Linked DNA regions of Homo sapiens: region 1 is linked to region 2. Evidence: promoter capture Hi-C in human tissues and cell types (Jung and others, 2019). All regions are on one chromosome and are shown on one strand. Each heading gives the region's core, a stretch centred on a gene start or on the middle of the fragment in contact. The rest is flanking DNA. Distances are from core to core; before and after follow the strand shown. Region 1 overlaps CDC14A (cell division cycle 14A). Region 2 holds the start of FRRS1 (ferric chelate reductase 1).

Region 1 (7,050 bases), core at 4,551-7,050, 620 kb after region 2:
CTCTCCTGACTGAAGCTGAACAAGTGCATGATTTGTGTTTGTTGCCATAATCCAAGTGTAGCCTGAGCTATTTGTTATTTGTGCAGCTTGTCATTATTTTTTTCTCTCTCCAAGTTGCTGTGGCTTGTGTTTTACAAGGAGTGATCCCACTAGAATATAACCTTTCACATAGCTTTTCTTTCCAAGATAGAAAATGTCTGGGGTCAATACCCTTATCTTAATTTGTATTGTTCTATCATAGCAGTCATTGTACTTTGGTTTATAAGTACCATTAAGTATTTATGATATACACTTATGATTTACATAACAGGGGCAAAACTTTGACTCTCAGGTAAGCAATACAGAAATTTCTATAGGTTTGATTATGTTAATTGATAGTCAATACTAAATTCCACCTTTTATCTACTATATTTTTTCCTTGTTAAATGAAACACTTACTGTACCTGTAATTAGTATCATTTTATTGGTCCTTGTGTGCTGTAAATGCATCCTATACAGTTATTCTCCTCTGTTTTTAATAAGCCTTGGCCAATATTTTGCATTAAATATTCATTAGCCTTTGAGGTTAGAGAGTGGGTTTCTTCTCCCCTTGTCACTGCATTGCTCAGCAAAGTGTTTGACACACAACAGCTACTCAATTCATGCTGATGGAACCCATAGAACCTTCTTCAGCCGCAGTATCCTGGCACCCAGATTTAGCAAATTGGTCACCTGTGGCCTGCATTCTGTCCACAGACATGTTTTCTTGAGCTTAAACACTGTTTAAAAAATTTTAATTCATAGTCAACATCTGCAGTTTATGAAAGCTTCAATTTTGTCTTCTTTTAAATATTGCAGTATCTGACCATTCTGCACCCAGATTCCCTCACAAGAGCAGTAGGTTGGAGCTTACTGCACTTTGGATAGGGAATGCTTTTCTTATTTACCAGCTGCCCCACTTCAGATTCTTGGCACCTGAGAACATCTGAATTTGGAACTTCTGGAATAATGACATTTAAGGCAGCTTAATTACGGAATCATTAAAGGGACTTGTTCCTAAGGTGTTATCACCTGGAATGCATGAATTTACAAATTGTAATAAGGTTTGCTGAGGAATCTGGGGAAATGTGTTTTTTGTAAAATGCTTTTAAAAGGCTTATTGCATGATTTAGAATTCCTTTTTAAGAGAATGTAGAGTTCTTTCGAGACTACTTGACCAGATGGACAGTGTTTTAGCTTCATATAAAAGATTCCCAGGGGTGGGACCAGTTACATGTTTATGTAGTGCTTCTCCAAAATTTAGCCATATCTTAGAGTAGTGGATTTCAATGTGTGGTGTCTGGACCAACAGTGTCAGCATTACTGGAAAACCTGTTAGAAATGTAAATTCTCAGGCCCTACTGAATCAGAAATTCTGGAGGTGAGACCCAGCAATCTGTGTTTTAATAAGCCCTGCAGGTGATTCTGAACCAATCTGTTAAGAGAATGAAATATAATACAATAATAATATAATGTGGTTTAGAGTTAGATTTAGTTATTTCTGAAAAGTCTTAGTACTATTGACCAATTCAACCTGAGAATTATTCAAATTCTGAAGCATGAAACTTGTTATGGCCTCATAATTAAGATTTACACAAATTATCAGGCTCTGTGAGAAAGTTTTGGACTGATCCTGCTTACTACTCTTACTGTGTAAATGTTCGTCAAAGGCCCTCTCTGACTCTGGGCTTATGTTCTCCTTGTAAAACACAGTGTGCTCATTATATTTTAGCCTTGCCCAGGACCCCTAGTCTGGGAGACGTTATGTGTCTGATTAAACTGGACCCCTCTGGTGCCATTCCTATTGCTTTGGATAATGGTGGAATGTCACAAGTGAGCAATAAATGCGAGCTGTTGTTGCGGTTATTATAGAGGGCTGGCTATGTCCACTTCAGTTTAGAAAGTTCAGAAGGGTATTTGCTTTGTAATCCCCGCACTTTGAGAGGTCGGGGTGAGCAGATCACTTGAGGTCAGGAGTTCAAGACCAGCCTGGCCAACATGGTGAAACCCCATCTCTACTAAAAATACAAAAATTAGCCAGGCGTGGTGTCACCTGCCTGTAGTCCCAGCTACTCAGGAGGCTGAGGCATGAGAATTGCTTGAACCTGGGAAGTGGAGGTTGCAGTGAGCCAAGATCATGCCACTGTATTCCAGCCTGGGTGACAGAGTGAGATAGTATTTAAAAAAAAAAAAAAGAAGAGTATTTGTTCCAGTTTCAAGATAGAAATCTAAAACATAAGGTGGATAGTGGCTGGCTGCAGATTGTGATTTGTAATGGGTCATGTGCTGTGCTGCTACAGAGCTGGCAAATAGTCCAGAGGTCTCAGTATTCTTTCTGTGACCCTCTCTATTTTATATTTACACTGTATTTATTGGAATTGACCAATTTTAAACTTCACTTTGCTATGGCATACAGTGTTTTTGTAACCTGTGAGCTTCTTGTGTAAAGCAGAAAATAATCTGTAATAGAGCAGGTAGCTCATTGAAAGCCTGTGGCTATGATGTAACCTTGCAAGTGTTCTCCTTGAAGGGCCCACTCATCATATTTGCTTTGTAATCCCTGCACTTTGGGAGGCTGGGGTGAGCAGATCACTTGAGGTCAGGAGTTCAAGACCAGCCTAGCCAACATAGTGAAACCCCATCTCTACTAAAAATACAAAAATTAGCCAGGCATGGTGACACCTTCCTGTGGTCCCAGCTACAGAGGAGACAGACCAGAGTAAGGAAGAGGCCACTGTCCAATTTAGAGGCATGATATTCTCCTGATATTAGGGCAGAATCTGAGAAAACATTGACTGGGCTCATACATAGAGTCCTGTCCTATTGTCTCCAAACTGTGACTTTGTCTGCATGGTAAAGTTCTTCCATGAAAGATCTCAAAAGAGAAGTTAATGTTCCATAGAAGGTACTTCAATCATCGATGTCTCCACTGGGTGTTAGTATTGCTTCTTCTAGGGTGCTTTGATTATGTAATAGTATTTTTTAAGTGGGGGACATGCTTAAAATTTGAGAGGAAAAAACATTAAAGAGTTTTTTTTTTTTAAATCAGCCCACTCATATAAAACATCAGCTAAACAACGGACAAAATATTTTGTTACCCCTCAAATTTTTATTCCAATACCAAAGTATCTTCTCTGTTGAACAGCATCACTGGTAGAAAACTGTGGGCCAGGATGACCATAAGAGGGAGGCCCAGTTGTGAAAAGGAAAGACATTAGCAAAAGGCCTAATTTTGATATTAGCAAATTTGAGATTAATTAGAAAATTAATTAGGAAATTAGGACAAGGTCTAATTTTGAGATTAGTAGATTTTTCTCTGCTCTCATTAACTTTGAATTCGTTTTGATTCCTCGAGTGAGAGAACTCACCTCTCAGTGATTTGACCTCGGAGATGCTGGCCAAGCTTCGCTAAGCAGGAAATCATTTCTTGGCTGGTGTGCTTTTGAAACTTAACCGAGGAAACTGAATTCCAAAAATACCTAAGCAAAGTAAATGCTAGCAGCTTTAAACATTTTCCTAAAAATCAGGCAGAAAGCTCTAAAAAGAAGTCAGTTATGTTTGCTTCCTGTGGGGAGTTTCTCATAGGAAATATTTTAAAATAAAGTTTCTAGGAAGATTTTGTGAAGATCATTCTCTATCTGATGTAATTTATGAAAGCTTATAAAGTTTAAGCATTCTTCTAAAATCTTTAAAGTGTTAATTTGTATTATATTTACTTAAATAATATTTATAGCTATACAGTGAAAAGAAAGTCTTCCTCAGAGTTCTGTCCTTTAGTTTTATGGCTCATGTTCCAGGATAAGTCTCTGTATTCTATATACTTTAGAATGCGAGAGAGAAAAAACGAAACCAAGTAAACACAAAAGATTCTACTCCCCCCAACCCCCTCCAAAAAAACCCAAGGAAGAAATAAGCATCAGTGATGAAAGAACAGCACTATAACTTGTCCCTTTCAGCAAGTAGATTTGTAAAATAAATACAGTTTCACATTATTAACCAATAGCAGTAGTTTGTCATAAAACCTAAATTCTTAGTAGAAAAGAGCATCAAAAATGATAATCCAGACTTGAAGATAGACTGTTGATATTTTCTTCCCCACAGGTATTTTAGGGAATTAGGAAATGTAAATAGGGAGAGGCTGGGAGCCATAAGAGCGTCGAGTCCCTATGCTCAGTCTGACTCATGTTTATTGAGAGCCTGGCCTGTGTAAGGCAGTATTTAGATATTTGCAATTCAGAGATGATAGGAGATGCTTAGGTCTGAAGAGCCTTTATTTCCTTTTTGGTAAATCAAACATAACTTATTGATGGGGAACAAATAAGTGGCAAAACCAACCAACCACCCAACAGACAATGAGACAATGAAATAAAACAGAAAAAGGCAATGTTCAGGCAGTCAGTAGTTCCAAATTGAGAAAGCAAAGAATCAAGTGTCAGCACCATTGGTTGTAACCTTTACATCCCTAGGTAACTTCAATGCATCAACTCAACTGAGCTGAATTAAATGCTGTGCCTTTGTTCTCTCTTTATTTCATAGGAGTATTTGTATAAACCTGTCAGGAAATAAGGGCATTGGCAATAAGATACTTTCTTTGAGTCAAATACTAATTTTTTTTGTTTGATTTTTGTTTGTTTGTTTTTGAGACAAATTCTTGTTCTGTTGCCCAGGCTGTACTGCTGTGGTGTGATCATGGCTCACTGCAGCCTCCATCTCCTGAGCTTAAGTGATACTCCTATCCAGTCTTTTTGTAGAGATGAGGTCTTACTATGTTGCCTGGGCTAGTCTCAAATTCCCAGCCCTAAGTGATTCTCCTGCTTTGGCCTCTCAAAGTGTTGGAATTACAGGCATGAGCCATCACACCTGGCCTTACATACTAATTTTTAAAAGTTTAATAAAAAGGGCACTACTGGCTGGGTGTTGTGGCTCATGCCTGTAATCTCAGCACTTTGGGAGGCCAAGGCAGGTGGATCACTTAAGCCCAGGAGTTCGAGACCAGCCTGGACAACATGGTAAGACCTCACCTCTACGAAAAATACAAATATTTGCCAGGCATGGTGGCATGTGCCTGTGGTCCCAGCTACTCAGGAGGCCGAGGTGAGAGGATCGATTGAGGCTGAGAGGTCAAGGCTGCAGTGAGCCAGATCATGCCACTGCGCTCCAGCCTGGGTGCTGGGTGACAGAGCAAGACCCTGTCTCAAAAAAAAAAAAAAAAAAAAAAGGTAAAAGATAAAAGGGTACAGCCATTTTCAGATAATGTGATTCTAGGAGTTCGAGACCAGCCTGGCCAACATGGTGAAACTCTGTCTCTACTAAAAATACAAAAATTAGCCGGGCGTGGTTGTGGGTGCCTGTAGTCCCAGCTGCATGGGAGGCAAGAGAATGGCTTGAACCTGGGAGGCGGAGGTTGCAGTGAGCCGAGGTTGCGCCACTGCACTCCAGCCTGGGTGACAAAGCGAGAATCTGTCTCAAAAAAAAAAAATATATATATATGTGTATATATATATATGATTTTTGGTTATAAAAGAAATGCCTGACTTGGAGTGAAGATTTCCTGGCTCATTGGAGGGATACACTTTCTGTGGTTACATGGTAAAGCCAGAGTGTTGCAGTTTCATCTTAGAACGGGCTTCAGAGATGGAAGAGTTTTTTTTTAATTTGTAGACAATAGCAGGATCAAGAAAAGTACATAGTTGAGCTCTATTTACCTTTTTTAAAGAGGTTCTAAAAGCAGGGATTTTCTGTGTGTTGTAGTCAATGTATAAGATAGAAAAAGCTGCTTTTATAGTCAATGTGAATTTATAGACAAATACTGAAATGTACTTTTGTGCCTGTGTTTTTTTTGCTAGCTCATTAAAGACAGTTTATGTACCTATATTTAGAAAATCAATTGTCAAAATACATAAATTTTGAAAAGTGAGGAAATCAAGCAGATTTCATTGAGTTACATTGTGTTCTCATTGTCTTATACTTATTCGAGTTTTGATTAATAATTTGATTTCATTTTACCAGATCTTTTTGTCATTTCTTTTCATGTTTAGCATGTGTACAACATACCATGTTGATTATTTTGAACTTAGTTAAATACTTGAGCATGCAGCATATTGCCTGGCATATAACAGGTGCTTAATAACTGTCTGAATTCATGAATTTAATAGATGGCTATTGTAATGTGTTGTATTAAGATGTTTGCTGATATAATTTTTTAATGGTATTTTTCCATTAACCAAGTATTTTCAGATATTAAAAGGGGGTTGTTATATAACATCCCAGAAATAAAATACTAATATTGGTCTTCAAAAATACGATTTTTTGGAGATCATAGTAAACTGGTTGACATTTTAAAAAATTGTGTTATATGAAAACTATAGATAATATTCCTGGGAGTTGGAGTGGCATGTAGGGGGTAACAAAGTGTGAAGAGACTTTCTGTAGAAGATTTAGAATAAATAGTCAAAAATGTTTCCAGTTAATAGAGATGCCAATATTTTAATTATTTTCCACCATATTAGTTTCTTTTCTGGGAGAGAAAGATATTAATTATATTGTTGATTCTTACATTATGATTGGGCTGTACAAAATCTGAGCTAGTAATTCTCTAACCCTCAAATGCCATAGAAATTAAAGTTGAAAGTTGTTAAATTTTATGGGTTGTAGCACATCTTGAAGGTTAAGAGATGATGTTTGCCTTCTGTATATGTTAACTTTGTCTCTATGGTTACACTAACTCTTTTTATCTCCTCTTTCTAGTCATACAGTTTGTCAAGAAAGAAAATAGTGCACTACACCTGTTTTGACCAACGGAAAAGAGCAAATGCAGCATTTTTGATAGGTGCCTATGCAGTAAGTACCTTCTTCATGATTATTTTCTATAATCAGGCCAGTGAAATGCTAACACTGTCAAAGAAAATCCAAACCAGTTTTTCAGTGGGATTGAGAGACGGTGGAGATTATTAGCAGTTTGGGAATTGATCTGTAGTGAGAAATATGGACTAGCAGTGGTGGAATGTTTACTCTTTAGATTTTATTTTCTAC
Region 2 (7,173 bases), core at 2,305-4,804:
AGAATTATTAGATTAAGAAGCAAAGGCACTCGACATTTAATATTTTATACTTTTCTACACAACCAAAATTTCAAGAATTTTTTTTCCCTATACTGTAATAACAATGTGCCATCTGCTATTCCAGGAATAAGCTTCTTTTTCTCCTGAAGTTTTGCCTTCTAAATGGGACCCCTATTTTTCCCCTAAATGGGACCCCCTATTTTTATATGGACAGGAATTTGGTTAAATTCCTGTCCATATAAAAATAAATGTTACACTGAAAAATAAGATACAATAATCTCTGTACACTATGCTCAAACTAGGTAGAACTGTGTATTCCCCATTATTTCATGTAATATGCAAAAGAGTAATAATATCTGATATAAGCAAGGATGTGAAGAAACGAGCACTCTCATACACAGGGACAATGGTAAACTGTCACATTTTTAGATGTTAACAATATCTTAGTAAATTAAAAATGTTTATCCTCTGACCTGGAAATTTCATTTCTAGAAATGTATCTTACAGTTCGGGCGCAGTGGCTGACACCTGTAATCCCAGCACTTTGGGAGGCCCAGGCGGGCAGATCACCTAAGGTTAGAAGTTCGAGACCAGCCTGACCAACATGGAGAAACCCCTTCTCTACTAAAAATACAAAAGTAGCCGGGCTTGGGGGTGCATGCCTGTAATCCCAGCTACTCGGGAGGCTGAGGCAGAAGAATCGCTTGAACCCTGGAGGCAGAGGTTGAGGTGAGCCGAGATGGCACCATTGCACTCCAGCCTGGGCAACAAGAGTGAAACTCTGTCTCAAAAAAAAAAAAAAAAGAATGAAAAGAAAAGAAATATATCTTACAGAAAAACCCATACAGTTAAGCAAGGATTATTTCCAGTAGCAAAAATGTTGGATAATTTAAGTGGTTACAAAAATAAACTACGCTATACCCAAACTATATAATACTTGCTAAACGTTAACAAAATGAAATAGAGTAAACAGATAACAAATACATCAGCTAATAATTATTGAGTGCATTCTAGGAGGTAGGCATTGTTTTAAGTACTTTGCAAGTATGAACTCATTTCACAAAAATCCCAAGACATGAATCTGCATGTTAAGAAGATACATGCTCATGCTCCACTGAGGAATCAAAACAAGAAAACTGCAAAATGATATGGAATGTACCAAAATATACATAACTTAAAAGGAAAAGAAAAAAACCTTTATACATGCTTCCAATTGTTCTCAACAGTGTTTACCCCTTAGGAAGGTATGTGTTTTCAGGATGGGAAGAGTGGGCTTCCTTTCTTTAATGCCCTTTATAATGTGCATTTTTTTTAAAGCATGTAGTGTTTTATAATTTCAAAAAACACTACAAAGTATGTACATGTAAGACTGTACAGAAACTGATTTGAAGGTGGTTAGATATTTTCTTTTTTCTATTTTCAAACATTCTATGTTACTTTTACTATTTTTGTTTGTTTTGATAAAGAAGACCTTCACCCCTCTTTCAAGATCCATTTAAAACGCCGTCAACTACTGTCCTATGATACAATGAAGTGTATGGACTTTGAAATATCACAGACCTAGGTTTGAATCTGTCCATTAATGTAATCCAGCAGGCACCACCATAGTGACCCTGGACAAATTATTTAACCTTACTGAGTCTTAGTTTTCTCACTTGTTAGAGACAATGCCACCAATATCAATGGCTTGCATGAGGATTAAATAAAATACTATCTCCAAAATATCTAGCACAATGACCACCATTAACAAAGTCTCCCATATAAAACTGTCTTCCTTTCTTGGATTCTTGCCTAATTCCACCAACCTGAAATAACTGTTCACTCCATAAGCTTTAGTTTTTCCTAATAAATTTTATCATGTTTTTCTGCCACATTTGGTGACTTGTCTTTTGGTAAACCTCTGGATATCAGTAAAGGTGTCCTACACATTGATCTCCATTCATTCTGACTAGCAGACAACCTTCAAAACAGTACTCATACAGTGTGATTGTTATGTGAATTTTGAGAAAATCCAATATTAAAAAAGCTGACAGGTGTGAAACAGAGAGTACACTTCACCAAAAAAATCAACATACTGGCTAACTAAATGACGAACTAAAACTCACTTCTCCAACCTAACAAAACCATCTCTTAAAAGGTCTTTGTTTTCAATAAGCTGATAGATCAAATTAAGCCCCCAACTTCAGTTCTATCCCAGTATAATACTCAAATCTTACCACTTTTTTAAAAATACAGAAGTGGCTGGGCGCGGTGGCTCACGCCTGTAATCCCAGCACTTTGGGAGGCCGAGGCAGGCAGATGACCTGACGCTGGGAGTTCGAAACCAGACTGACCAACATGGAGAAACCCCGTTTCTACTAAAAATACAAAATTAGCCGGGTGTGGTGGTGCCTGCCTGTAATCCCAGCTACTCAGGAGGCTGAGGCAGGAGAATTGCTTGAACCCGGGAGGCAGAGGTTGCAGTGAGCCGAAATCCCGCCGTTGCACTCCAGCCTGGGCCACAAGAGCAACACTCCGTCTCGAAAATAATAAATAAATAGGCCAGACGCGGTGGCTCAAGCCTGTAATCCCAGCACTTTGGGAGGCGGAGGCGGGCATATCACGAGGTCAGGAGATAGAGACCATCCTTGCCAACACAGTGAAACCCCGTCTCTACTAAAAATACAAAAAATTAGCCGGGCGTGGTGGCGGGCGCCTGTAATCCCAGCAGTATACTCAGGAGGCTGAAGCAGAAGAATCGCTTGAACCCGGGAGGCGGAGCTTGCAGTGAGCCGAGATCGCGCCACTGCACTCCAGCCTGGCGGACAGAGCGAGACTCCGTCTCAAAAATAAATGAATAAATAAATAAATAAAAATAAAAAATAAAAATACAGAAGCAAATGAAAATATCTGAACTGAAAAGTTTAGCTATGTTAAGAAATATTCCTAATAACACATTTACAATTTGAAAAATCCCCTTTACCCTTTAGGGCAGTATGACAAGCACACACAAAAATAAGTGCAGTGATAACACCTTGCCACCCTGGAGTCTTTCTGAAATTTTAACGACACACCAGGGCTAGGGAGTGGGAGGGTAAGGGGACTAAAAGTTCTAGATAAAAAGCCACTTTAAAAACCAAATAAGGTTCTAAGTGACCCTGATATAGGTAACCATGCCACTAGCTTTAAATATAAAAAAAGAGTTCCTACAGTTTTAAATTTAAAATTAAAAACAAAAAAAAAACTCCTGCAAGAATAAAGTCAATGATTTTCAGGATCCCAAACACGTCTCTACTTATAACCACCCATATCTTGGAATTAAAGCTTGTTAGTCAAAGTCACAGGACATATTAACCTAACTCGTTAGTGAACACTCATTAGCTCAATTCAAGCTCCAGAACATAGTTTCGGAATACAGCACCCGTTCTGCCTGGCCGACTGCCCTGGTCAGCACAGGCACTCGCTCTCCAGTCTGTCGCTAAGCTGGATTTGATTTTTAACGCTTTACAAAGAGCTTTGACATTAAGGAAAAAGACGTGACACTTACCTTGAGAAGCGAAGGCAGCCTAACCAACTTCCGGTTTTGTTACAACTTGTATCACATTTCAGCAGCTGGGTGGAGCCAGTTAAGCCTTGAGCCAAAAGGGAACCTTTCCCAAACTAAGCTGCAGAACTTGATTTGCAAGACCAGTGCTAGTTTTAGGACTCCATTTCTGAAAACTTAGAATTCTGTTTTACACTAAGGAACAGTGTTTGCCAACTAGTACCTACTTCGCCACAAAAATTATAGTTTTTGTGTTTAATTGCAAAACTATTTGAAAATACCTGTTCTATAATAGTGCTAAGTAAAAGCAAATTAACTTTTAAAAAGTGGAAAAAGATCAGATTGCATAGAACCGAAACCTTTCTGCAGTGTGAATGATATAATGCAAAAGAAATCTTTTATTTTGCAAATTACCCCTGAAATTTAGGAGTTTTGTTTCTTTTTAAGCCTTTAATCTGTTTCACAAGACTCTTTTGCAAAAGAAAAATTTTAGGGCTAGGAAAAGACAATGTAATTGAATTTTTAACAATCTTTGTTTTTATTTTGTTTTTTGTTTTCCTGTTTTTTACTTTTTTTCTTCTCTTTAATGTAATTGAAAATATTAAACATTCCATTTCAGACCTTGAGTGACATTGTAATTGCCCAGTGGGTTCACCTTGCCCGCTGTCTAGACAGAGCCGATTTATCAAGACAGGGGAATCGCAATGGAGAAAGAGTAATTCACGCAGAGCTGGCTGTGCAGGAGACCGGAGTTTTTTGTTTTGTTTGTTTGTTTGTTTTGTTTTGTTTTGTTTTGAGACGGAGTCTCTGTCTGTGGCCCAGGCTGGAGTGCGGTGGCATGATCTCGGCTCACTGCAGCCTCCCCGTCCTAGGTTCAAGCGATTCTCCTGCCTCAGCCTCCCCAGTAGCTGGGACTACAGGCGCCCGCCACCACGCCCGGCTAATTTTTGTATTTTAGCAGAGACAGGGTTTCACCATGTTGGCCAGGCTAGTTTGGAACTCCTGACCTCAAGTGATTCCACCTGCCTCAGCCTCCCAAAGTGCTGAGATTACAGGCATAAGCCACCGCGCCCAGCCCGGAGTTCTATTATTACTCAACACAGTCTCCCCAGGATTCGGAGATCAGAATTTTTAAAGATAATTTGGCGGGTAGGGGCTTGGGAAGTGGGAGTGCTAATTGGTCAGATTGGAGATGGAATCATGGGGGGTCGACGTGAGGTTTTCTTGCTGTCTTCTGTTCCTGGGTGGGATGGCAGAACTGGGTGAGCCCAATTACCGGTCTGTGTGGCATCAGCTGATCCACCGAGTCCAGGCTCTGCAAAATATCTCAAGCACTGATCTTAGGTTTTACAATAGTGATGTTATCCCCAGGAGCAATTTGGGGAGGTTCAGACTCTTGGAGCCAGAGGCTGCATGACCCCTAAACCATAATTTCTAATCTTGTAGCTAATTTGTTGGTCCTGCAAAGGCAGACTGGTCCCCAGGCAAGAAGGGGGTCTATTCAGGAAAGGGCTACTACCAATTTTGTTTCAGAGTCAAAACATGAACTGGATTCCTTCCCAAAGTTAGTTTGGCATATGCCCAGGAATGAACAAGGACAGCTTAAAGATTAGAAGCAAGACAGAGCCAGTTAGGTCTGTTCTCATTCACTGCCATAATTTCCTCAGTTATAAAAGGCTTTGCAAAAAGCCTTTTTGCAAAGGCGCTTTCAACATATGCAGACTGGAAAATAGATTATGACCCATGCCTTGACCTGTGAATGCTGGTTATCAATCAACCCCAGTAAATTCTTTAAACCATTTTTAAAGAGAGAACAGAGAAAGGAACACCATCACGTTACGCTTTCTCTTAAAGAACTAGTCACAATTAACAAAAGCCCCTCTCTACAGGTTATTAAAGAGAGGCTTTAAATAAAGATGACCCAGAGTTGGTTTGCTATCCTAAAGCTGCTGGGAACATGAATAGTTTTAAACTAAGTCAGCTGATCTTCAGTTCTTCAAAGCCTCAAGTGGTGAAATAGCCTTCTGCAGATAACAGACCCTTTCCAGGAACTGTCCCCATTGCATGCCAAAAGTATGATATGTCTATAAAACAAAAACTCTTCGACTATATTATCAGAACCCTACATTCTAAAGCACTCTTAGGAAGTGGTACGACACAGTGGGAAGAACTGAATGGAGAGAGAGGCTAGCTTTGTCTAAAACAACCCTTTCACTAGGCTCAGTGGCTCACATCTGTAATCCCAACACTTTGGGAGGCCGAGGGGGGTGGATCACGATATCAGGAGTTCAAGACCAGCCTGGCCAAGATGATGAAACCCTGTCTCTACTAAAAACACAAAAATTCGCCAGATGTGGTGGCACACGCCTGTAATCCCAGCTACTCAGGAGGCTGAGGCAGGAGAATGCTTGAACCTGGGTGGCAGAGGTTGCAGTGAGCAGAGATCACACCACTGCACTCCAACCTGGCCAATAGAGCAAGACTCCATCTCAATAAATAATAAATAAATAAAACACCACCCCTTCTGAGACTATCATTTCTCTCCATGTCCCCAGCTATAATTCCACCTTATCATTCCCTTCCAGATCACCTCTACCAGACTCTTCATCAACTCATCAGTTGTCACAAAGGAGACCAATTTTATTAAAATTAGTTTAATGGAGCTTAGATCCTAAGAAGTTAAAGCTACCCTACTGGTTACCATTCTCATGCCTCTATATCAGCAGTTCTCAAACTTTTTTTATTTCAAGGTCCCTTCACAACTTTGAAAGATTATTATGTACATCAGAGATGCTTCTTTATGTGGGTGATATCTATTAATATTTTTGTATTAAAAATTAACAGAAAAAGTTAAATATTCATAAATTTGTTTTTAAGTGACAATAATAGTTACATGTTAACACAGTATCTTTTCTGTTGCTTATATTATTGTTTTTCAACAATAAAAAATTTAATGAAAAAGTATAGCATTTGACTAGTCTAAAAAAAAGAAAAAGTATCATTGTTTAAATTGTTGCAAATCTCTTTAATGTCTGGCTTAATAGAAGACAGTAGGATTCTCATATCTGCTTGCATTCAATCTTTTGTGATATCATGTAACACCTCATGTAGCCACTGGAAAACTCCACTGTATATTCATGAGAAAATGAGAATGAAGAAGGCAAATAAAGTATAGCAAGAACAATAATTATCATTTATTGAACACTCATTTTAACCAAGGCACATGTATTATCCTATCCATTATGAACATCCTTCAGCTGAGAATGTTAAGGACCTGTGTGGCTAAGTAAATTGCTGAAGATTAGACAGAGAAGTGGTAGACAGGATCCTAAGCCAGAACCACTGTCTCCACTGAGCACCACCGCCAAGTCTGAATGAGGTCTGATGAACCAAACTTAGGAACTTGCCTGCCCTATTATACTCAGCATTTCAAACAAGTTTACATTCAAAGAGAACGTCTCCAGTTGATTAGACACAGCCTTGACTCAATACATCCAAAACCCACCATCTAAAATAAACTTATTCTCACTTAGCCTTTAATTATATTCATCTCACCCAAACAGCCAAATTCACCCCCTCTTCTCCATCTCCACTGCCACTATTCTGGTTTATGTCCTGGACTGTTGTCTCAACTGAACTACAGTCATTAT

Evidence for each region. The method cuts DNA at HindIII sites, captures the fragments that hold promoters and counts their contacts. A contact is called where the count stands out against the background at its distance.
Region 1: a fragment that was not itself captured here is called in contact with the fragment with the promoter of FRRS1 in region 2 in 1 of the 25 tissues and cell types used here (lymphoblastoid cells).

What each region holds. Positions count from the first base shown.
Region 1 is chr1:100,383,967-100,391,016 of GRCh38, forward strand. CDC14A (cell division cycle 14A) reads left to right here. Exons shown (of 16, transcript NM_003672.4): 4 at 6,766-6,858. Among named protein-coding and RNA genes, the nearest start is that of CDC14A, 35 kb to the left of the region's middle. The HindIII fragment of the contact is 4,505 bases long and covers 3,549-7,050 here.
Region 2 is chr1:99,763,081-99,770,253 of GRCh38, forward strand. It overlaps FRRS1 (ferric chelate reductase 1), which reads right to left and starts at 3,555. Exons shown (of 17, transcript NM_001361041.2): 1 at 3,527-3,555. The HindIII fragment of the contact is 12,687 bases long and covers 2,567-7,173 here.